4 separate regions of the Homo sapiens genome follow, and regions 2, 3 and 4 are each linked to region 1. The links are contacts of gene promoters, found by promoter capture Hi-C in blood cells and fetal thymus (Javierre and others, 2016). All regions are on one chromosome and are shown on one strand. The core of a region is centred on a gene start or on the middle of the fragment in contact, and the rest is flanking DNA. Distances in the headings are between cores, read along the strand shown. Region 1 holds the start of GSPT1 (G1 to S phase transition 1). Region 2 holds the start of USP7 (ubiquitin specific peptidase 7). Region 3 holds the start of HAPSTR1 (HUWE1 associated protein modifying stress responses). Region 4 holds the start of PARN (poly(A)-specific ribonuclease).

What was found. Contacts are between HindIII fragments. The CHiCAGO score rates a contact against its expected background, and 5 or more counts as called.
Region 2: a contact is called between the fragment with the promoter of USP7 here and the fragment with the promoter of GSPT1 in region 1, in 4 of 17 cell types (non-activated CD4 T cells, total CD8 T cells, naive CD8 T cells and 1 more). The highest score is 9.0, in non-activated CD4 T cells.
Region 3: the fragment with the promoter of HAPSTR1 here is called in contact with the fragment with the promoter of GSPT1 in region 1 in 4 of 17 cell types (non-activated CD4 T cells, naive CD8 T cells, fetal thymus and 1 more); the score reaches 10.4 in non-activated CD4 T cells.
Region 4: a contact is called between the fragment with the promoter of PARN here and the fragment with the promoter of GSPT1 in region 1, in 4 of 17 cell types (neutrophils, non-activated CD4 T cells, naive CD4 T cells and 1 more). The highest score is 10.6, in neutrophils.

What each region holds. Positions count from the first base shown.
Region 1 is chr16:11,913,302-11,919,360 of GRCh38, forward strand. It overlaps GSPT1 (G1 to S phase transition 1), which reads right to left and starts at 2,655. Exons shown (of 15, transcript NM_002094.4): 1 at 2,068-2,655. The coding sequence starts at 2,419. RefSeq lists silencers at 1,785-1,834, 1,875-2,114, 2,205-2,274, 2,985-3,044 and enhancers at 2,099-3,036, 2,645-2,794, 4,095-4,595. The HindIII fragment of the contact is 2,427 bases long and covers 1,354-3,780 here.
Region 2 is chr16:8,961,517-8,967,575 of GRCh38, forward strand. It overlaps USP7 (ubiquitin specific peptidase 7), which reads right to left and starts at 2,390. Exons shown (of 31, transcript NM_003470.3): 1 at 1,691-2,390. The coding sequence starts at 1,769. USP7-AS1 (USP7 antisense RNA 1) reads left to right here and starts at 1,197. Exons shown (of 2, transcript NR_184341.1): 1 at 1,197-1,378; 2 at 5,237-5,474. RefSeq lists enhancers at 761-1,297, 3,994-4,617, 4,618-5,241, 5,242-5,863 and silencers at 2,493-2,852, 4,536-4,830. The HindIII fragment of the contact is 5,189 bases long and covers 1-4,782 here.
Region 3 is chr16:9,089,230-9,095,288 of GRCh38, forward strand. HAPSTR1 (HUWE1 associated protein modifying stress responses) reads left to right here and starts at 2,415. Exons shown (of 4, transcript NM_014117.3): 1 at 2,415-3,041; 2 at 3,692-3,772. The coding sequence starts at 2,816. RefSeq lists enhancers at 580-1,445, 3,715-3,884 and silencers at 1,356-1,486, 2,275-2,344, 2,515-2,854, 3,065-3,564. The HindIII fragment of the contact is 14,700 bases long and covers 1-4,311 here.
Region 4 is chr16:14,627,607-14,633,665 of GRCh38, forward strand. PARN (poly(A)-specific ribonuclease) reads right to left here and starts at 2,654. Exons shown (of 24, transcript NM_002582.4): 1 at 2,501-2,654; 2 at 1,991-2,068; 3 at 566-645. The coding sequence starts at 2,519. BFAR (bifunctional apoptosis regulator) reads left to right here and starts at 5,345. Exons shown (of 8, transcript NM_016561.3): 1 at 5,345-5,412. RefSeq lists enhancers at 1,622-2,145, 2,146-2,667, 2,668-3,190, 4,790-5,357, 5,358-5,927. The HindIII fragment of the contact is 4,468 bases long and covers 573-5,040 here.

The DNA.
Region 1 (6,059 bases), core at 1,405-3,904:
AACATGAACTGGCATTTTGGTACAAGCAATTGGTAAAGTCGGTAACACCAAAATAGTTTTTTGATTAAAAACAAGAAAGTTGACCATGCTGTACGGATTCTCTTACTGACAGCTACTTCCCTACAGGTTTTCGCATCTCCAATTTCTAGCACTGTCAAAGAGAAAAAGATTAGGTGTAACTACAAATTAGCAACTATCAGGAAGAGAGAAAGCCCGCATAAGAGGTAATACCTAGTCACCAACAGTGACCATTCTAGACCAAGGTTGGTTATCCCCGGATGACTCGCTGGACAGGCTGTAAATGGAGTCCTGAGTCTAGTCAGAGTGGTGCTGGTGGCTCCACAGAAAGGAGGAAGAGCCAAGAAAGAAAATGGCTGGATAAACGGAATCTGCAAAGTAAGGTAGGGAATGGGCACTTTTAGGAGCTGAGAAGTGAACTAGGTTAGGCAGTCAAAATGGCTTGATGTAAGTCAAGAATTACAAGCTAAGCTTCCTTATTCAAGAGGAAAACATTGTCTAGAGCCGTACCACCCTGAAAGTGCTCGATCTCCTCAAAAGAAAACATCAACCACCCACACAAATAAATGCCACTGTCAACAAAACCACCAAATCAACCGTGCTGACGTACATACGTCATCAGAGTGTTTCTCCAGACACTATCCCTTTACCACGAAAGAGCAAACGGTGACAAAAGTTTCTGTAGAAACCAAACTCCTGGAGCACTTTTATAATGTCCACTTATCTAAGAACCACCACAATACAGAACTTTAAAGAGAGAAATCAACAATATGTTCTCACTTAAAATGCGCTGGATGTCATGACCCACCCCACTAACGTCCTGGCTAAATGATGAAAGGACGTTCAGCCTTTTCCTTCCTTTTTCATTTTCTCTTTAAGGAAACACTGATAGTTCCTAAAATAAGCACCATTAGGAAGAGAATACTTAAGTTCACTCATTTGACATTCCCACAAAATCAGTACCTGAAAGCAAGCTACCTACCACAAAATAAGCACCATTATGAGAATACATAAGTTCACTCACCGGATATTCCTACAACGTCAGCACCTGCAAGCATGCTACCTACGACTTAAGCAACCCCTAAGTACGGGAAGATGTTTAAAAACCAAAGTTAACTCGAAATTTTATGGATTAGAAAATGTATGTCTACTAGCTACGGTCAGAAAGACACGTGAGAACTATTAAATTATAACAAATGCTCAAGTGTCTGAAGAAATAGACTGAACTACTGATGCACGAACACAGTGAGTTATTCCAAGCAATCTGAATAAGGTCAACGATTTTACAGCAATGAAAATTCTCTAAACGTGTCGCTGACAAAGGATAAAAGTGTAAGCTTCACTTTAAAAAGACACAAATCAATATAGTCTCCTATCACACATTAAGTGAGGAATCCTAACTTTGTGGCACTTTGTAAACTTTAGAAGCGTACACAATGCTAAGGGTAAAACAGATCTTGGTATTGATAGCCAAGTTTCTGCCCGATCACAAGGCTGCAATGCATCTTGGGATTCCTTCAGGACGGTTGGGGGCCACGGACAGTTTAAACCGTAATTACAGTTTCAATAGTAGAAAACGCAGCAGAAGACGCTCTCTCGGCTGGGCCTAAGGTGAAAGGAAAACTCGGCCATTCGTCCTCCCCAACTCCTGGGATCTCTAAACGCCCACCCAAATGACTCCTGGCTCCATCTGTCCTCATTCTGCGCCTCGTGGCAGGGATCCGCCGCGGCCCCCACTCCGTTCCATACGGTTCCCATCTCAAGTGGGTAACTGCGGACTCCAGAGCAGGGCAGGGGCGCGGAGGGGCGGCACTCGGGTCCGGGTCTTTGGGCGCGCTGCCCGCTGTCCGCTCCCCGCCCGGCCACCGCCGCGGGCCGCCCCGCGAAGGCCGGCTCCCGGGCTCGGGGCGCCCCACCCAGGCAGACGGCGCCACTGTCAGCGCCCCACGTGCCGACCGGGCCCCAGGGCCGCGCGCCCCCGGACCGCACCCCTACGCCATGTGGGCTCCGGCGCCCGGCCGGACTTCCTCCCGCGTCCCGGGCCTTTACCCGCACGGCCTCCCGCGCCGCTGCCGGCTCCGTGGTTATTGGCGGCGCCGCCAACTGGGGGTGGCGGCGCTGCCGGGCCCCGCAGGAAGGACGGCACGAACTCGGCGGCGTGGACGTTGGGCACGAAGGGCTTGGCGTTGACGTTGAGTTGCCGGCTGAAGGCCGCGCTGAGGTTCTCCCGCTGGGCCTCGGCCGCCGCCGCCAGGGAGCCGCCGCCGCCGCAAGGGCCCGGCCCGGGGGCTTCCATGTCCGCCTGGTCCCAGCAGTCAGGCGCCGAGTCGCTGCTGCTGCTGCCGCTGCTGCTCCCGCCGCCGCCGCCGCCGCCGCCGCCGCCGCCACTGCCCGGATCCATGATCGGGGGGGCCGTGTGTGTGGTGGACAGAGAGCGGGAAATGGAGGCAGGGGCGCCCGGCCGGAGAGGAGTGGGCAACGCTGACTGAGGGAAGGCGGCGGGGCAGAAGGGCCGGGAGCTAGCGACAAAGATCCCCGGCGTCGCCGCGGCAGCAGCTCCAGTCCCGACTCCACACTCGCGACGACGACAGAGGCGGCGGCGGCGGCAGCTCAACCCTCCTCCTCGTGTGTGTGAGCGGATCTCCTCCCACCCAACCACCTCCGACGGCCTCACAGCCAACCCCACCCCCGGCGCGGATTGACCCCTCGCCGCCACCCGTACCTTCGCCTCGGTAGTTCTCTGTTCTGGCCGCCCCCGTTTCCGGCTATTTAGCGCGGCGGGAGGTGGAACTACAAGTTCCGGCAGCGCCCGCGCTACCCCGCTGCGGTTTTCCCGGGGGCCGACGGGAGTCGAAGTTCAGGGACAGGGCGCAACCGGAAGCGGCTCCGGCTCCCGGCAGGCAACGCGAGGAGGCGGAGGTCTGGTGGCCGCTCGGCGGCCCCACCTGTCACCTGGTGGGGGGGCAGCGGCAGGCCCTGGTTGGTGCAGCTCTGTGCTGGGCCGAAGACCGAGAGTATTTTAGCCCATAGGAGGGGTCCACTCTGGCCTGCTGGACACAGGCTGGGGGAAAACGGACAGCATCTATAACATGGGGAAGAAAAATACACTCAGCTCCCGAAAATTCTTGTACTCTCTTTTCACCACCTTTCCTGCGTTCTCTGCCTCACAGTCTCCGTACCTTATTCTCTCTCCACCTTCTTTCTCCTCACCCCCAGCCAGATTTTGCCCTTCATTTCAAAGCCGGTGCAGATTGCAAAGCTGATTTCATTTTATGTAATCATTTCGTGGAAGAAACAATAAAACCGTGAGATATTCCGGCTTAAAACTGCAGTGTGGCTCATAAAGCGCTGGGGCCCAGGCTCTGCCCAGGCAGAAGGGATTGTTAACTGGAAAATTTCAATGACTCACCGTTTGTTTGACTAGTCATATAAAGCCTTCACCCAAATTTTTCCATCCTTTCCTCCTCCCCGCCAAAGGGTTTGCAAATTAAACAGAGGATTGCCGTATTCCATGGTGTATCCGGCTTACCTAACAGGGTTATTTTGGTGAGTCTAGCTTCCTTATGCACCATTACGTGAAGTGGTTTCCTTTTGAATGGTCTGATTTGCTCAAGAATTCCCATAGTACTTTTCATCGACTGCATCTTACACTTACAGATTAGGTAAACCTGGGAAAAGAACAAAAGCAAACGAGAAATACTTAAGAGTTCGCATTTAGGCCCTTCATGAAGTAGGAAAAAATGTTGCTCTGAGTACCTGTTAAGCTTTCCTGTAATTCACCCATGTGGAGCCCAAGACAGAGAAAAACATATTGTTAGTATTTTTCTGAAAGGAGTCTAGACAGGGTGCAACTAATCTGCCTAGAAATTACAGACTAAAGAAGCACATACATAGAATAGATGTTTCTGAACAACCTTAGGTTGTTAAAAAAAAAAAAAACCTAACAAAATCCAGATCTAGATCTGTATTTTAATTTTCTTTTTTCTTTTTTTTGAGACGGAGTCTTGCTCTGTAGCCCAGGCTGGAGTGCAGTGGCGCGATGTCGGCTCGCTGCAAGCCCGCCTCCCGGGTTCACAACATTCTCCTGCCTCAGTCTCCGGAGTAGCTGGGACTAGAGGCGCCCGCCATCACGCCCGGCTAATTTTTTTTGTATTGTTATTAGAGACGAGGTTTACACCGTGTTAGACAGGATGGTCTGGATCTCCTGACCTCGTGATCCGCTCGTCTCGGCCTCCCAAAGTGCTGGGATTACAGGCGTGAGCCACCGCGCCCGGCCGATCTGTATTTTAATTTTAAACATCTGTATTGTAAAGATAAAAGAGAACTCAGCCTAATGAGATAGGTCAAAAACGAAGCTGTCAAGTATTTTTCAAAAGAGTCCTAGGCTACAGTAATTTGAATTTAATATTAAACTACCAAGCTTTAGGGATTAAAAAAACACATACCGGCCAGGCGCAGTGGCTCACACCTGTAATCTCAGCAATTTGGGAGGCCGAGGCAGATGGATCACGTGAGGTCAGGAGTTCGAGACCAGCCTGGCCAACGTGGTGGAACCCCCGTCTCTACTAAAAATACAAGTTAGGCCGGGCGCGGTGGCTCACGCCTGTAATCCCAGCACTTTGGGAGGCCAAGGTGGGCGGATCACGAGATCAGGAGATTGAGACCATCCTGGCTAACACGGTGAAACCCTGTCTCTACTGAAAATACAAAAAATTAGCCGGGCGTGGTGTGCGGGCGTCTGTATTGCCAGCTACTCAGGAGGCTGAGGCAGGAGAATGGCGTGAAACCAGGAGGCGGAGCCTGCAGTGAGCCGAGATCGCGCCACTGCACTCCAGCTTGAGCGACAAAGCGAGACTCTGTCTCAAAAAACAAACAAAAAAAGCGATCCACCTGCCTCAGCTTCCCAAAGTGCTGGGCTTATCGGTGTGAGCCACCACACCCGGCAGAGTTTGCCTCTGCTTAATAGGAAGTTTTGGTTATAGCCTATTATTATACCTGAAGACCTCACTGAATCATACTTAACAATGTCCATTTTAAAGTTGGTATTAAGTGACTGTCAGATTTACAGAGAACTTAACAACTGTTATGAAAATTAGAACTTCATTTATGCGAGACCTGTATTGCTATTGAATAAAAGATTTTCATCTTATATTCACAAGAAAAAATACAATGTGTTCTAAATGAAATGCCTTCTCTTTCCAGATTTTCACTCCCCACCCACCCACCCCTAAGAAAATGTCAACACAATCAGCTGACTCAAATAATGAACTACACATCCTTCTCTAAGCATTTTGTCTTTGAATACTACTCTCCTCCATGTAGCACTCCTACAGCACTGAATGATCACTTTCTCATAGGTTAGTTCTTCACATCTAATTGAATTAGCAGAGTTTCCTTCTGCCTGGTACTTTTTCTAGGGACAAAGGCAGAAACTGCTCAGACTGCTGCTTAGAAAAGCAGTTGATGTCATTAATTTCCTTGTCTCTGAATAGGATAATTATGGATATTCAGGAAAAAATCCACTCCATTGGTTTTCCAAAGCTTTGACCTGCCAAACAGAGCTCCAGCGGAAAAGGGAAAAGTCTTTCTTGTTAGTTGTGCTAAGTTGTGTGTAAGTTGTGCGACTTGAGGGCAGGGTCTTACCTTAATCTTCTTTACATTTCCACTGCCTAGTGTAATGCCCGGTGTATAAAAGGTGCTTAATCAATTTAGCTGGGATGATACTGTCCTTTGATACTCATTTAAGACTGCTGACACATAGGGCTAATAATTTTATTTATTTATTTATTTTTTAAATAACTTGAGACTCTTGAGACAGAGTCTCGCTCTGTCGCCCAGGCTAGAGTGCAGTGGTATGATCTCAGCTCACTGCAACTTCCACCTCCCAGGTTCAAGCGATTCTCCCACCTCAGCCTCCTGAGTAGCTGGGATTACAGGTGTGCACCACCACGCCCAGCTAATTTTTGTATTTTTAACAGAGACGGGGTTTCACCATGTTGGCCAGGATGGTCTCAATTTCTTGACCTTGTGATCTGCCCTCC
Region 2 (6,059 bases), core at 1,140-3,639, 3.0 Mb before region 1:
CAAATACCTTGAAATTTGTGGACCTGGTCATTTTCCCAAAGATACAGGTCTGTAACACACATGCTCTGCAGTAATGTCTGTTTATTAATTCTCACTAGTGTCCAAAAACACCTGGAAAGCGGTAGGACAATGTCATGGGAAATCCATATGCTCGTGTTATTGGATATTTGTCTTGACCGGGTACCATTTGAAAAGGAAACTGAAAAGCAACCCTCTTTTATGTTTTAGATGGGCTGCAAAATACAGCACAAAAGGAATACACAAAATTCCCTCAGTAAAGTACTTCTTTTCAGCTATTTGGTTTAATCACACATAACAGGCGCTCTTAGTTGCTGCTTTGCTGGGGCCAAGTGAAACAGATAACCCAGTCCTTGGCGTGGACTCCGCTCTTCTGTCCCCCATTACTGCCATTGATAAATACCACTGGGGAGTGCCTACTGCAGAATCCCAGCCACTTTGTCATTTGCAACCTGGCCAGCCATTTTTTCAGTGACTATCCAATTACTGGAAGTAAGTTATTCTATTCAGAGGTGAACACCAGTCACGCTTAAGTGTTCCCACCAACCGGTGTGCAGCGCCCCACACTTGGAGCCACCGCACAGGACAAATACTGCTTTTCCTGAGCTCCCCTGGAGCTTCATTCATTGAGGCAACCCAAGATCCCTTGCTAAAAGCAAAACTAAAGCATTCCACGCCGTTTTCATTCAGGTGGCCTCCATTTGACTCCCGACAGCCTGAACTCGTCACGTAGGTAAGAAAACTTTTTAAAGACCATTTGGACTTTGCTTTGTTTCAGTGAAATGGGTCGTGAGAAAAAGTGCCTTCCAACGACCAACTCCCTAAATCCAACACCCTTCTCTTTACAGCGTCTTCACATCCAACCTTTACAACCAAGACTCTATACCTCAAACTACAGTGCCTTGGAAAATTACTGCCACATCGGCAGAAAACCGAGTTACCTTTCGAGTCAGGTTTGATTCTGATGCAGGCAGCCATGTGCGGCAGGGCTTTCGCACGGTTGCAAGCGCACACCTGGCCGGATGCTGGCTGCACCACACACTGCCAAGTACAAACTCCCCGAAAAACAGGTGGATTCGGAAACCAACAGCGCCCGGGTCAGAACTCTGGGCCAGTCCAAAACCTGACAACATCTGCGTTCCTTGCAGGTATTTTCGAACGTAAGCCCGACGCTAGGCAGTGCTGTTAGAAAGTGATTTGGAAGAGCGCTTCCGAGCCACGGCGCGCCCTCCGGGGGAGCGCACCGGAGCAGGTGCGGGCGAGCCCCGCGCCCGGGGAGGTCAGGAATTCCCCAGCCACACCAGATCCAACCGGACGCCCCAGAACGGGGACGGTCCCCGGAGTCCGCCTCCCAACCTGGGTGAGAAAACACCTCCGTCCCTCCGCTGCCTGAGCGCTCGAATTTACAACTCAGGGCGCTTTGTGCCGCGGAGGCCCGGCGGACGCGAGGTCGGGACAATGCACGGGGCCGGGGTCCCGGCGGCCGCCCCTCGCCCGCGGACCCGGCATGACTTTGCAGCCTCGCAGGCCGGGGCCGGGAGGCCAGGCCGAGGCCCGGCGGCCGCCCGGGGCCTGGTTAAAGATGGCGAGCCCCTCGCGTGGCTCCCGCGGCTCCCCCGGCCACAATGAAAGGCGCCCCCCGGCCCCGCCGCGGCCGGCCCTCGGGCCTCACCTTCCATCTCCATGTCCTCGGGCTCGCTCAACTGCTGCTCGCCCGCTTTCTGCTGCTGCTGCTGCTGCTGGTGGTTCATGTCGGCCGCGGCCTGGGCCTCGCCTGCGGCCGGGGGCCGGGGCTGCGAGCCCGGCGGGCGGGCGGCGGCGAGCCGGGGCGGCGGCGGCGGCGGCGGCGGCGGGGCGGCCTCCTCCTCCTCCTCCCGCGCGTCGTCGGCGACGGCGGCCCCGGGGCGGCCCGCGGCGGGCGGCGGCGGCGGCAGGGAGACGCGCACGTACTTGCTCGCGATTCGCCCAATCTCGGCGCCGAGGCGGGCGGGCGGCCGGCGGGCCGGGCCGGGCGGCCTCGTCGCTCGCTGCGGCCGCCGCCGCCGCCGCCGCGGGGCCCGCCTCCCGCCGCCGGGGCCGGGGCCGGGGCTGCGGGGCCGCGGGCCGGCCGGGGGCGGAGGGCGGCCGGTCGGGGGCCGCGGAGTCAGCCCCGCCTCGGGCCGGGCGCGGCGGACGGGAGGCCTGGCCGGCCGCGGCGGGCCTGCGGGCCCTGGGGCCGGCGGGAGCGGCGGAGCGGGCGGGCGACGGGCCGGCCGCGTTCCGAGAGCCGCGGCCTCCGCCTCCTCGGCGTCGTCGTCGGGGCTCCGGCAGCGGACGCGGCGCCCGGCAGCTCGGCTCGGCTCGCTCTCAAAATGGCGGCGGCGTGAAATGTCACATCCGCATGGGGGGCCGCGGAGCGAGCGAGCGAGCGAGGAGAGCAAGCGGGCGGGCGCCGAGCCGGAGGGCGGAGCGGGAGCGCAGGGCGGAGCACGGGAGGCGGAGCAGGGAGCGACCCGCCTGCCGCCGCCGCCGAGGCCCGCCTGCCCCGCAGCGCCGCGCCCCGGCACCGCCTGCGCCGCAGCCCCGCGGCGGACCCTCGGCGCTCCCTGCCCCCGGGCCCTGGGGGCCGAGGCGGGCCGCCCGGTGACTTAGCCCTGCGGAGGTGAACCGGAATCCTTCCCATCCTGGGGAGCCGGACACCCCGAAAGACCCAGGAGCGGCAATGAGGAGGGGCCCAGAAGCCACCCGGCAGCCGGGGTTCAGGTCCCAGCCTAGCGCGCCGGGGCGAGCGCTGGAGGTTGCCCGGGGACTGCTCGGGATAGGGCCCGGAAGGGAGCTTGGGGTCAGCGCCTAGAAGTTCCTGTTATTGTCGTTACTTACCCTTGCCCGCTGACGTGCACTTTTTCACCCAGTATCTACCGTGGAAGAATTTATTTTCTCACTGTCAGCCTAATCTGGCAAAGTTTGGCTCCTCAAGAGCAACCCCAGGCGGGGCGCAGCTGCTCACACCTGTGATCCCAGCACTTTGGGAGGCCGAGGTGGGAGAATCACTTGAGGCCAAGAGTAAGAGACCACCCTCTCTACAAAGGTTTTGGGTTTTGTTTTTATATTTTTGAAATGTATTTTTAATTAGCCGGGTGTTGTGCCTCCTGCCTGTAGTGACAGCTACTTGGGAGGCTGAGGCTGGAGGTTCGCTTGGGAGGTTGACTGAGGCTGCAGTGATCAAAGATGGCGCCACTGCACTCCAGCCTGGGCAACAGAATGAGACCCTGTCTCAACTAATAGTGATAATAAAATAATAATATAAAAATAAAACAAGCCCACTACCCTTCACATTTGGTATTAATTTACTTCCTTCCTATCAACCCAGTCTGGGATCATTCACCCGGGGCCTCCCTATTCCAGGAGACATTTGGTGAATATATCTCCTGTCCTGTCTCATTCAGTCATTGACAGACTGATGATTAGGGTCTCAACTTTTCCAGTTAATCAAGGCAGTGTGGGTCAATAAAAATGGAGCAAACCGATATACATTTCTACACATCTCAGGGGAGAATAGAATTTCACCCTAACAAGGCCAGAAGATTGTGGTACCTGTCTTCTCTCCATCTCCCTATACCCGCTTTCCCTGCATTTTTCTCCCATTTATGTACTGTTCATCTCCCTTCCCCCCGAAAGAATGTTTTGCTCACTGTTGTATCACAAATGCCTGGGATACACAGCAAGTGCTCAATAAAAATTGGTTGGGCCAGGTCGGCGCGGTGGCTCACACCTGTAATCCCAGCACTTTGGGAGGCCAAGGCGGGCGGATCACTTGAGGTCGGGAGTTTGAGACCAGCCTGACCAACATGGAGAAACCCCGTCTCTACTTAAAGTACAAAATTAGCCGGGCGTGGTGGCGCATGCCTGTAATCCCAGCTACTCAGGAGGCCGAGGCAGGAGAATCACTTGAACCCGGGAGGTGGAGGGTGCGGTGCGGTGAGCTGACATCGCGCCATTGCACTCTAGCCTAGGCAACGAGCGAAACTCTATCTCAAAAAAAAAAAAAAAATTGGTTGGGCCAGGCACGGTGGCTCACGCCTGTAATCTCAGCACGTTGGGAGGCCGAGGTGGGCGGATCACCTGAGGTCAGGAATTCGAGACTAGCCTGGCCAACATGGTGAAACCTCATGTCTACTAAAAATACATACAAAAAACTTAGCCGGGCATGGTGGCATACGCTGGTAATCCTAGCTACTCAGGAGGCTGAGGCAGGAGAATTGCTTGAAGCCAGGAGGTGGAGGCTGCAGTCAGCTAATCACACCCCTGCACTCCAGCCTGGGCAATAGAGGGAGATTCCATCTAAAATAAATAAATACATAAATAAATATTGGTTGAATGGGCCAGGCACAGTGGCTTACACCCCTTATGCCAGCACTTTGGGAGATTGAGGCGGGAGGATCAATCACTTGAGCCCAGGAGTTGGAGACCAGCCTGGGCAACATAGGGAAACCCGATCTCAATCAGCCAATCAATTAATCAATCATTAGTCAACTGGTTGAATGAACATATGATTCAAGCGTGACTGGATCCCCCTCACCAGCATTTCGTACGCTTGAAGGTTTTTCACCAGTATATTTCCTGCCAGACCACAGAGGTGAGCAGGGGAGAGCCCAGTCACTTCAAAGGAATCCCTTGGGTCACCCCCAGAATCTGAAGAAGAGGTATTGTTATTCACACAGATTCTCACAAATGCTAATCAACAGCGCTCAGATGCAAAAGAGTCCTTCTCTCTAGTATTCTGGAAGCTTGGAGGAGGGAAGAAAGTGCCTTTCTGGCAGAGGAAGAGGTGGCAGAAAGTTATGTATATGGCTGTCAGTTCACATTGGCCAACCTTATCCTCATCACTGAGTTCAAAACCAATCTGGCCGGGCACGGTGATTCACGCCTGTAATCCCAGCACTTTGGGAGGCTGAGGCGGGCGGATCATGAGGTCAGGAGTTCGAGACTAGCATGACCAACATGGTGAAACCACGTCTCTACTAGAAATACAAAAATTAGCCGGGCATGGTAGCGCGCCTGTAATCCCAGCTACTCAGGAGGCTGAAGCATGAGAATCGCTTGAACCTGGGAGGTGGAGGTTGCAGTGAACCGAGATTGCACCACTGCACTCCAGCCTGGGCTATAGAACGAGACTCTGTGTCAAAAAAAAACAAAAAACAAAAAACAAAAAACACACAATATCTCTCTCTCTTTCTAGAAGCACCTTGAGGAAGAAATTGTCTTGTCTACAGCTCTATCCTCAGTACAGCACCAAGCTTACAGTGGATGCTCAGTGAAGATTTGCCGATTTGCCGAATGAATGCTTTCACCCCTGCAACTGTTTACTGCCTGCTAGGAGCTCAGAGCCTCTGGGATACAGGCTGGGAATGACAGTGCCTGCTCGCTTGGAAGGCCTCTCTTCTGGAGTCAATAAAACAGCACTTCTTTGCTTCTTCCTGGCTGGTCCACATCTTTCACTGAGGAGTGGATAGTGGAGGGAGAGTTCATTTCTAGGGCACCACAGCTATGAGAAAAGCAAGACCAGTGCCCTTGGAGGCCCACTAAAAAGGCCCCCACTGGATTATTCCAGCAGGCTCGGCTGGCCTGTTTTCTTCCTCCCCTGGTAGAATTGTGCCTGCATTGGCTATAAAGTCCATTTGCACACAGAAGGGGTGTGTGTGGAAGGACTCTGCAGAAGTGAATCCGCTGAGTAATGCCTGCTTCCTCAGAGGGTGAATGCCAAGATGCCTCCAAAGGACATGAAGGGCTCTGAAGGGGAAGATGACTGAGGGCACCATTTTTGATCACTGCCAATTAAAAAAAAAAAAATTCATGACCCCTACCGTGGTTCAGAAACCGGGGACTAAGGAGATGAAAAACCGGGGAGACAGGAACCGCTGGAGAAACTGACTTGTCATTAGCTAGAGCCAGTAAAGGGCAGGGAGGGCCCACCCTATCATTACTTGGATCAAAACATATTTTGCTGCTCCCAGGGCCATGGCATGACTTGGCATAAACAGAGGGTTGGTTTTTCTTCTTGA
Region 3 (6,059 bases), core at 1,165-3,664, 2.8 Mb before region 1:
CCGCCATGCCTGGCTGTGTTTTGTATTTTTTTGTAGAGACTGGGTTTCACTATGTCGCCTAGGCTGGTCTTGAACTCTTGAGTTCAAGCAATCCTTGCGTCTTGGCCTCCTAAATTGTTGAGATTATAGGTGTAAGCTACCATGCCTACCCTCCTAAAATATTTAACTCATATACCTTGTGACTCTAAAATACTATTTCTGAGGATATATATTCAATACACATATGTATATATGCAAGGATGTTCACTGTATTACATATGTACAAGATGTTCATTATGGCATTGTTTATAATAGCCAAAGACTGGTCACAATCTAAATTTGTATCAATAGGGGCCCTGTAAAATACTTTGTAGTGAATCCATACAATGAAATTATTTGCAATATTTTAAAAGAATAAATAAGTCTTTAGGTCCCAATGTGGAGACATCCAAATTATGTTAAGGAAAAAAGGCTTGTAGGATAGTACACATAAAATCATCTTTTTTTTTCCTTAAGAAGGGACATACTTGTATATAGGTACACACACACATACACACTCGACGTACACATAACTCCGTTTTCAAAGGTCACAAGTTATTTCCTGGGAATAGGATTGGGAGGATGTAGAATGAGGTAGGTAGAATGATTTTTGTTTGCTTTTCACTTTATATTCTTCCCTACAATTGGAAACCTGTTTTTTAGCCACCGCGCCAGGCCTAATTTAGCATTTTAGATAGTGATTGATGTTATGAAATAATATAACCAGGCAATACGAGACAGTGTGAAGGGTGCTACTTTAGGCTTGTCCTAGTAGGCTTCCTAAACAGGAGCTATCTGAGGAAAGAGGAGGAGGAAGAGCTTCCAGAGATAGCAGACTGGGGCAGGAAAGAGCCTAGTGTCCCAGGGAAATAAGGCAGGCCAGTGTGTGAGCGTCCAGGCGAGGTGGGGAAGAGGGGGAGTGCGCAAGGTACAAGCCAAGTAGGGGATTGTGTGAGAGGCGCCAGGGCCAGATCCTGCAGGGGTTTGCAGGCCGCGGTGAGGGGGTCAGATTTTCTTCCAAAGCCGCCTTGCTCTGTGCAAGCGCACTATCGCAGGCTGCGGGCGACGCTGCCTCTGGCCGGCGCCCTCCGCCGCTCCAGGCCGGATGGTGCCTCCCGTGGGCATGTAGGTGGGGATGGTGGGTTTTGCCTCTGTGCGGTCACCGCCTGTCTGCGTTGCTGCCTTCTCCGGGGCCTCAGACCCTGGAGAAAGCCCCGACAGGGGAGGGGGGCGCGCAGCCGCAGGGGCGTCCAGCTATCGCGCACTGCGGGGGGAGTAGGGGCGGGCGCAGCGCTCGGCACCGCCACGCGGGTTCGGGCCGGGGAAGGCAGGGGCCGGTACGTGACGCGGGGCATGCACGTGGCCTGGGAGTGTGCTTTTCGGGACAGGTGCGGGGGCCGCCGCGCGCGCAAAGGCGCAGACGCACGCGTGCGGGCACCGGGCACCGTCGGCCGTCGGGTTATCCTTGGCTCCGCGGGCGGCCGCCGAGGTCCTGTCCACCCGGAAGGCGCGACGTCCTCGGGGGACGCCAGGGCGCAGGGGCAACTGAGCCGACTTCGCAACTCGGAAGTTTTTCTTTGGCTGTGATGGTCGATTTGCCCGTCTAAGAAATGGGACTCTGGGCCGGGCGCGGTGGCTCAAGCCTGTAATCCCAGCGCCCTGGGAGGCTGGAAGATCGCCTGAGGCCAGCAGTCTAGACCTCGACAACGTAGCAAGACCCCGTCTCAAAAAAAAAAAAAAAAAAGGGGGAGTACTCAAAAGAATAGGAAAGCGCTTTGCAAACTTGGACACGAGTTGGGCGTTTTATTCACTTTCTCTACTACCCTCCTCCCTTTGGGAGCCCCAGGGGCTGGAGTAAGCACGCTACCACCCACTATACCTCTCAGTGCCCGCGGCACAGGAGCCGCACTCGACTTTGCATCCCCCCAGGGCCTGTACACGCCGGAAAAGCTCCCGCGGGGTGCGGTCGCTGGGCCTCGTCACGTGATCCCCACTCAACGCCCCTGAGCGGGGGGGGGAGCAGCGAGCAAGTGCGCATGCGCATCCCTTCTAGCTCTTCCCCTCCACCCCCCACCCGCCCCCTTGGCTCGGACGCAACCACTGTCAGCTCCTCCCCCTCCTCCTCCTTCATCCTTCCTGACATTCACTCCCTTCCCCCAGCCAATTGGTTACGTCAGGCAGACAGGCCGAAGAACCAATCACGACGCTGTGCTCAGAAGCCGCCACGCGGAACCGGCCGGATCCGACTAATAGGGGCCCTTGGAGCGGCCACGCCTCAACCGGGCAGGGTAGCTTGGGCCCAGTGGGCGGTGCTTCTCCTGTCAGCATGTGGGCGGGGTAGGGCGGGGACCAGCAGCCGCAGAGCCGTCCTCGGCGGTGGCGACGACGACGACGTTGCTCAGTCTTGGGGTGGGCTCCGCGGTGCAGGCCGAGCTGCGCGGAGGGCTCGGCGATCAGCGGCGGCGGCGGCAGTGGGGAGGCCGCAGCGCCATGGGGGGGCGTTAGACAGGCTGCGGCGGCCGAGGCGAGGGGCGGCAGCGGTTATCTGGTCCGCGGCGACCTTCGGCCGGGCCCGGGGGTGGGAAGGCCTGGGGCGGGGGTCGTCCCTGGTTGCACGGGGCCGCGGGGCGGGGCTCGCCGGCCGTCGGGGTGCAGGAGGCCTGGGCCGCTGAAAGGAGAAGGCGCCGTCGGTCGCCAGGCCCTGCCGCCGGGCCGCTTGACGACGACGCTCCCGCGGGGGCCCCGCCTGAGGAGGACGCGGCGGCGGTGGCGGCGAGGCCGCGGGAGGCCGCGGAGGATGGAGGAGCGGAAGGAGGAGGGCGAGGCCGAGATCCAGGAGCACGGGCCCGAGCACTGGTTCTCCAAGTGGGAGCGGCAGTGCCTGGCCGAGGCCGAACAGGACGAGCAGCTGCCCCCCGAGCTGCAGGAGGAGGCGGCGGCCGCCGCGCAGCCCGAGCACAAGCAGCAGAAGCTGTGGCACCTCTTCCAGAACTCGGCCACCGCCGTGGCCCAGCTCTACAAAGGTGAGGCCGCCGCCGCCATCTTGGTACCGCTTGGCCGCCCCCGCCCGGGCCCGGCCCCGGCCCTATCGGCTCAGCGGCCGCTTCGGGGGGCCGCGACGGCGGCGGCCTCGGGGATCCCGGCCGGTGGCTCCGCGGCCCTGCCGCCCCCTCCCCGCAAGATGGCGCCGCGGGAGGGAGGCCCGGGGTTGGGGGGACAGGCCAGAGCCGGCGTGGGGGTAGCCCCGCTTTGGGGTGGTCCGAGGGTCCCCGCTCTCCGGGCCCGGCCACCCGGTGTCCCCCTCGGCCCGGAGACGGGAGAGGAGGAGCCCCCGTCACAAAATGGCGAAGGGAGACGGCGGGGCGGCCCCATTGTGCCCTGAGCCGGCCTCGGGGCGGGGACTGCCAGGGGGGGCGCTTCCCTGCGCCGCGGCTCGTCCCTGATCTGTGCCCCTGAGCTCTGCGGCATCCCCTTTTCCCCGCCGCGACCTCCCTGCCCCCCCGGTCCTCACACTGGGTTTGGGATCCCGAAACCCCTGAACAAAATGGCGAAACCTAATATGGCCGTTCCGGAGTGATTGACGCGCAAATAACATTCTTGTTCTCTTTCTTTCTCTTTCTATGTGTGTTTCTTTTTTCTTTTTGGTTTTTTTTTTTTTTGGCTTGCTTTTCAGACCGAGTGTGTCAGCAGCCAGGACTTTCTCTCTGGGTCCCCTTCCAAAACGCAGCCACCGCCGTCACCAATCTCTACAAAGGTAAAGATAACCTTGCTGCATTGCCGATTCAGGGAAGGGCCGCCTGCGTCAGGGTGTCTGCCCTGCGTTCCAAGTGTGTTTTCTGCTCCCCAGCCCAGCTGCTAACCTTGAATACCTTGCAACTTGAGAATCGCGGCGGTGCTCTAGCTAGATCCACCGGAGGCGATTTTGACACCTCCCTCCGCCCCCCGGGACAGATGGCAACGCCTGGGGACGTTTTTGGTTGGCTTCTCCTAGAAGGGGCTGTTGTTGGGCACCCAGTGTATAGAGGCTGCTGAAGGTCCTGCAGTGCCCAAGATAACCGCCCCGGCCCCCTCTCAGCGAAGAATTATCATGCCCCTAAAGTCAGTAGTGCTCAGGTTGAGAAGCGTTGAGCTGGAAGACGGCTGAGCCTTGCCTCCCTCTGGAAAAGACATTGAGGGAAGATAAGAGTTGATGTTTTTTGTACTACAGTCGGAAGTGGGACGAACTTTATGGAAAAGATTCTTGAGTTAGGCATTTGAAAGCGTGGCAGTCTATATAGTTTTGAAGTGCTTGAAAGCTTGCTAATCGGAGTCATCTGCGCGCATGTTAACGTGCTGCTCTTCTCTAGCAATTTGATCAAGTGTTTTCTGTTAAAAGGATCCTATATTTGATTATAAGTTGCTGGCAGGAATTCTGTTGAGAGTTTTGAGTCCATAGGTTTGTTTTATGGTGGTTCCTTTCTGGAGTTAATCCCCCTCCCTTTGTGATGACATGAAGATGTGTAAGTAAACGTTCTTGCCCATTTGTGCATTCTTGGTAACGGTGGGTTTAGATTTTGTGCCTTACTGGTTTTGAAGATTGAGAAATTTGGGGTTGATTTTTTTTTTTGGCAAGATTTTTATGGAAAAAGGATTTGACTTTGTTAATCTTAAGAAATATGTAATTAAATGTTTTCAGACTTTTAAAAGTTGCTCAGAACAGTAATGGAACTTTGTGCATTTCAAAAATACCAATATTGGTATTTTTGCCATATATATTTAGGCCATATATAGGTTGAAACGGGCTATGAAGGTGCTGCTTGACTGTCAAGTTGTTAATTTTTGCATAAGAATGTGCAAATGGCCGCAGCATCTTGTAGGAAAAAATATCTCCTTGTGAGATTTCTTGAGTAGACTACAGTTTTTTGGGACAGTAATTTGAGAACTGGTAACAAAGTGGTGAAAAGAAACGCTAACTTTAGGGAATGAGGAACTGTAATAATAATAGTCCAGTCTTACTGAAAAAAGGGAAACATGGTTAAATAGTGCCTCAGTGGTTAGCTTTGATTTTATATAGCTGTTTGTTAAATTGTGACTGAGTAAATTGCTTCAACATCTATCAGTGCTGACGGTCTTGAACGTTTTGGAATGGCTCTTGGTTTTGTCCAAAAACAGAATTTTGAAATAATACTTAATTAAAAAAAAGGTTTCTGGGAGTGTAATTTACATACAGTAAAATCACTGTTTTAGGATATATACTTTGATTTTTTTTTTTTAAGAAGTAGAATATATCTATCACCCCCACCTCCCAGTCCCTGGCAGTCACTGATTTGATTGCTGTTTTTTCTCCTCCATCATGTCCTAAATAGAATGGTGCAGTCCTTGTAGCCTATTGTGTCTGGCTTGTTCCAGTTACTATGATAAGGTTCACCCATCGAGTTCGCATTGCAGGTGTGCATAGTTCAGTGCCTTTTGATTGGCTAGTATTACTCTATGGTGTGGCAGTACCATGGTTTATTCTTTTGCTTTTGTTGGTATTGCTTTGTGCTTGAAGGGGAAGGCAACACATTTTTAGTGTTTTTATGTGCCAGGTTCTTAGCCTAGGCCGTATAAAATGGGATTGTCCTCTGGCTTTGGTCCTGTTGGGTTCTTGTAGAATGTGTCCCTTTAGGACTAACCTAGCAGTTTTCGTTAGTGCTAACTTTTCGTGTAAGAAGATGGGTTCAGCAGTTGAACTCTGAAATAATCCTTAATTTGATTACTTCATTTAAAAATGTTTACAATTTGTTTGTTTTCCTGCTCAGAAAACTTAAGGAGGAACATTAATTTTATTTTTAGAAAACATCACATATGATTCTTGGATTATTGTAAATGCTAGATTGTTAGTCTGAACTAGTTTTATTTTGTACCTTGTTTCTGTACAGTGAAAACACATCCCTTGCCTAATAGAAATGGTAAGTTGTGTCTTGTGGAATTTGATAGTGCAACGTTTTCTTATTTGATTCAAGGAGTGTGTGGATAATACTCTGGATAGCCTCACACTTTTTCTTTTTCAGGGTGTGGTC
Region 4 (6,059 bases), core at 1,404-3,903, 2.7 Mb after region 1:
TGAATCAAATTAACACTGAAAATGCTAAACTTTCCCCAAAATATTTTCCAGCAAACAATTATTTTTGCTGTTTTAAATATCATTAAAATAACACTTTAAGGCCAGGTGTGGTGGCTCACACCTGTAATCCCAGCACTTTGGGAGGCTAAAGCAGGAGGATCATTTGACGCCAGAAGTTCGAGACCAGCCTGGTCAACAAAGTGAGACCGATCTCTACAAAAGAATATGTAAAAATTAAAAAAAATAATAATAATTGGCTGGGCACAGTGGCTTGCGCCTGTAGTCCCAACTACTTGGGAGGCTGTGGCAGGAGAATCAGTTGAGCCAGGAGTTCAAGGCTCCACAGAGCAGTGATCACGCCACTGCACCCCAGCCTGGGTGACAGAGCGAGACCTTGTCTCTAAAACAAGACAAAACAAAAAAAAAAATCACTTCATGGCTAGGTTTGAGGAGAAAATACTGCACTTACAAAACCTTAATGCACAAGTTTAGTAACAATATTTATCATTTAACATAAGGAAGACTAACATGAGAAAGAAAAAGATTTCCTAGCACATCCACTTGCCTTTTTAAGCTTCTGATACCTCTCTTCTGGAGTGTCAAAACCATTTGTTAATGCAGAGACTGAAGGTCCATCACTGATTCCTAGATTTTAAGAAATAAAAATTTTTAGCTTACTAATAAATACTAACGTAAAAATGCCAGTCAATCATTCAGTGCCTCTATAATGTCGTATCACGAATTAAGGTTACTTGGAAGCACTCCCTAACTTACTTTTTTAAAATAAGCATTAATTTCAGTGGCCACCAGGTTAAACCCTCTAATAATGAACTTAGAGATGCGAATGTTTCAACATGAGAATAGGCAGTTCCAGCGTCTAAAACATGACTTAAAACACAGTAATCATGTAAGAAAACAATCTCTATGCTTGAATAAGTTTTGCTGCTTTAAAAGATTCCTGTATAAACAGACATCAATAAATCCCTAAGTATATTATTGCCAGAGTTCCAGTCTTGGTCAAGAGTTTGGAGTGGTTAATATCTATGCAAAGAATGTATCTTCAAGATTAAGAGAAAATTATTTCTCTAAGTGAAAACTCTTAGCTTCCTAGGGAAGTGATTCCAACTAGACACTACCTAAAGCCAAGGATACTATTTACCCCTGCATGGATTCCTTCATGATTCAAACATGGAAAATCAGACAGCAAAAATGGATATCCATATCAAAGGGAGTGAACCGTTCATATTGACATCAGCAATTTAAAAACTAGTCTTTGCTCCCCCTAAAAAAGGGGAAAAAAAATTTGCAACTTTAAGTGTCAGTGAAGTATTTCCTGTATACACACCTGTTGAGGCAGGCAATGAACACGTCCACTAATGCATAAAGAAATATCTCATTTATCTGCAAAAACCTGACCCTAGCCGGTCACAAAAGGGCAAATATTGTAAGATTCCACTTATATGAGATGTTAAGGGCAGTCAAATTCAGAGACAAATGGCGGTTGCTAAAGGCTGGGCGAAAGGAGAAATGGGGAGTTTAATGTGTAAAGAGTTTCAGACTGTGAAGATGAAGAAGTCCTAGAGATGGATGGTGATGTTTGCACAGCAATGTGAATGTACTTAATGCCACTTAACTGTAAAGCCACTTAAAATGGCAAATTTCATGTTATACCTATTTTACAATCAAGAAAAAAAACAGTCTGACCCTAATCCTCAAGCTCTCTGCAATGTACACGCCGCACTGTTTTAAGCAGCATCAAAACCATCATCTCTATCTGAGATCCTGAGTCCAATCACAAACCTACGGCGTATCTTCATTTCTTTCGTGCTTTTGAAACGTTTAAAGGGTAACACTGAGACCTGTGAAACCCGCCCAAGGCTACTAACAGCAAGAGGCCACCACCAAGCATAAGAAGTTGGGGGCTGGGGGATTGAAGGAGCCTTGGCTATGCACTGCAAAGTGCTAGCCTGAGCTTGCAAGGGAGGGATACCTGAAAACTCCCCATCGATGGCGAAGAAGTCGGCCTCCTCTATGGCCTGGTACACTTTGTGAAGATTACTCTTAAAATCTGCGGAGAAACCGAAAAGAGGCTCAGAACCAGTGGCCTGAATTCCTGCTAAGGGGAGAGGGAAGGAGGGCCGAGGAGCTCCCGAGGCTGAGAGCCGGAAGGGGAAAAGTCCCGGAGGTGTGCACCGGGGCGAGGGGAATCAAGTCCTCGAGGGGTGCATGGGTCAGGGGGGACAAGCCCCGGGGGGTGCCCGGCCCGGAGAAGGACAAGGCCCCGGATGGTGCCGGGGTTGGAGGAGTAAGTACAAGGCTCCTAGGGTGCACGGTCCGCAGCCGGAAAAGACCCCAAGAGGCGCACCGGCTTAAGGAGGGAAAAGCCCTGAGGGGCTGCCTCAGCCCCAGGCCCAGCCAAACACGCCGGCCATGGTCTCGGCCTAGCAGGCCAGGGGCAGCCGGGTGTGGGGAGGCGGGGAGGTGTACGGCGGACACGCACTGCTCCTGATTATCTCCATTCTGCAGAGTGGCCGGAACCTTGGCCCCACCCGGGCCCGCGCCCGCCTCAGCGGTTCTACTCGCCGAATTCCGCGGCGACTGCGGCAGTAGCTGAGGCAGCCGCAGCGGTGACGCCGGCCGCGACTTCCGGAAACAGCGCGCGCCTGCTGCGCTTGCGTCAGCGCCTGCGCGGCGGCGGGGGCGGGGCCAAGGCTGGGCTCCTTTCCCTCCTTATAGGGACAGGGGAGGGGCGTGGCTATCGAAGTCCCCAAGGCGTGGCCTAATTTGTGCGGGCTTTCACTTCAGTAGAAAAAATGTGCATGTCTCGACATCCAGTCGACCAGGAAATACTGACTGGGTTTCTGTGATATGCTAGCCACTCTTACAGGGGTGGAGATACAGTGATGAACAGGAAGACGTGCTCCCTGCCCCATTGTAGCTTAAACTTGGGGTAAGGGGAAATTCAGGCAGGAGTGAAACTTGCCATTTGGTAACACATGAAAATCGCTATTAAGAAAAAGAGCGGGGCGATGTAATAGAGAATAATGGGATCCGGGTGCGGTGGCTCACGCCTGTAAGCCTAACACTTTGGGAACCCGAGGCGGGAGGATCCGTTGAACTGAAGAGTTCGAGACCAGCCTGGACAGCATAGTGAGACCTGTCTCTTAAAAAAATAAAATTAGGCCGGACCCGGTGGCTTATGCCTGTAATCCCAGCACTTTGGAAGGCCGAGGCGGGCGGATCACGAGATCAGGAGTTCGAGACCAGCCTGGCCAACATAGTGAAACCCTGTCTCTACTAAAAATATAAAAATTGGCTGGGCTTGGTGACTCATGCCTGTAATCCTAGCGATTTGGGAGGCAGAAGCGGGCGGATTACCTGAGGTCAGAAGTTCAAGAGCAGCCTGGCCAACATGGTGAAACCCTGTCTCTATTAAAAATACAAAAAATTAGCCGGGTGCAGTGGTGCGCGCCTGTAATCCCAGCTATTCGGGAAGCTGAGGCAGGAGAATCTCTTGAACCTGGGAGGCGGAGGTTGCTGTGAACCGAGATCACGCCACTGCACTCCAGCCTGGGTGACAGAACGAGACTTGTTTTCAAAAAAAAAATTAAATTAAATTAAAAGAATAATAGGGGTTGTTACTTAGGTGATCACGGAAAGCAAAGCTGAGACCCTTAGCTACTGCATTAGCCTCTGGGAATACTATGTCGAGTGCAACATATGAGGCCCGGCCCTAATGGAATTGTATGTTGGTTTGGGGTTGCTGTTCTCCAATGCCTAGCACTGGGCTGACACGTAGTAGACACTCAATAAGCATGGGTTGAATGAATACATTCAGGTTGGTCTTTCACAAAAGCCAACTATGAAAAGTTGGTTAGTGCCGGATGCGATGGCTCACGCCTGTGATCCTGGCACTTTGGGAGGCCGAGGCAGGCGGATTGCTTGAGGCCAGGAGCTCGAGACCAGCCTGGGCAACACGGTGAAACCCCATCTCTACTAAAATACAAAGAATTAGCCTGGCGTGGTGGCGCACCCCTGTAGTCCCAGCTACTCGGGAGGCTGAGGCAGGAGAACTGCTTGAACCCGGGAGGCGGAGGTTGCAGTGAGCCAAGATTGTGCCACTGCACTCCAACCTGGGCGACAGAGCGAGACTCCGTCTCCAAAACAAACAAACGAACAAAAGGAAAGTTGATTAGAAGACCTATTTTCAAAATCTATCTCAGCCACTTATTAGTTCTGGAATGCATTAAACCTTCCTAAACCTCAATTTCCTGGGATTGTATTGAGGCTCAGTGGTGCTAATGAATGTGAACTGGGAAGCAGCGTATTAATAAATCTGTATAAATAACTGTTTAATGGGGGCCTGGCGCCATGACTCACACCTGTAATCCCAGCGTTTTCGGGGGCTGAGGCAGGAGAATCGCCTGAACCCAGGAGTTCCAGACCAGCCTGGGGAAAAGAGCGAGACCCTGTCTCCATAAAAATAAAATGAAATTTTAAAATGAGCCAGGCGTGGTTGTGCACGCCCGTAGTCCCAACTATTCACGAGGCTGAGGTGGGATAATCGCTTGAACCCGGGAGGCGGAGGTTGCAGTGAGCCAAGATCGTGCCACTGTACGCCAGCCTGGCGGGTGAGAGTGAGACTCTGTCTCAAAAACAAACAACAACAACAAAACAAAACCAAATAATCAGCATAAGTTCTAGACGCTGTGACCTAGACGCTGGGAAGGGGCGAAACGTGGTGATAAGAAAACCATTTCAAGCTGTACGAGGTGGCTCACGCCTGTAATCGCAGCACTTTGTAAGGCTGAGGCAGGAGGATCCCTTGACGCCATATGTTCAAGATCAGCCTGGAAAACGCAGCGAGACCCCATCTCTACGAAAAAAAAAATATTTTAATAGAAATAAAAGTCATTTAATTCCGATTCTTAACACCGTAAATTGAACGTATAGTCCTGTGATTTTCTACATAAAATGTGAAGGCAAAAAATAACTGTAGAGAGTACGGTGCGGCCTTGTAATATTTTAATTTCTAGGCAAAGCTTGTATCCTCCGGATACAAGAACAGCCGCCCAGGAGGAGCGGAAACTGACACACACCCGTCACCCCTTGGGCTGTGACTGCCGAGCCCGGGTACTCGGTCTCTGGGTGAAGAGGAAGGGGCGGGACCGGCGGTATTACGCATGCGCCCACTTCCTCCGGCTGGGAGTGGCCGCTCTAGGCAGCGGGGAGGTCGCGGGGTTGAGGGGGGTTGTGAAAGGAGAGCGGCCTCTCCTCTATGGTCACGGGGCCGGGGCACGCTTCCCCCACTCTGTCTTGTTACTTCCGGTAGCGAAGCCTCTCCCTCTTCCTCTGCTCCCGCGGGGTCTGTGCTGAGAATAATGGCCCGGTTGGCCCGGGACGAGTGGAATGGTAAGCCGCGACACGGCTGGGGGGTGCTGAGGGGGCGACTCGGGCTTGATATCGGGGAGTGATGTGGAAGACGGAGCGGGAATCCCTTCTGCGGAGCCTCCCCAGCCGGGTCGTAGGAGGCGCGCGGGGCCTCTCCTCACGCAGGCCCGAGTCCTGAGCATCCCCACTCCTGGCCGCGGGGTTCGGACCCCAGCTTGGCCAACTGCGCTATCCCTTCCCGAGAGCCCCACGTCCGCACAGCCGGTCGCTGGGCCTCGCCTGCGTCCTTTCGGGGGTCAGGGTCAGAGCCACTCCCTCCTGGGGCTCCCTAGGGCGGGAAGGAGGAGGGGTCGCTTCCAAACACCTTGGAGGGGAACCACGGGGCGCCTGCCCGCCAGGAGCGCTTGCCACACCCTGCAACAGCCGGACCAGAATTGATGAGGCTTCTGATAGTCGCCACGCTGAGTTTACGGTCTAATTGTCGAGGCACGTTCCTGGCCTAAGGCGGAGCGATTGTGCCCATTCTTTAAAGTAGGGTGACCGAAGCGCAGAAGGGAGAAAGTGAAATCCCAAAGTCACACTGGGGCCAGGCAAGAACTCGGCTCTTCTGATTCTGCGACTTGCGGCTCGGAAATAACTTAGGCAAAAGAGAATTTTCTTTTTTTTCT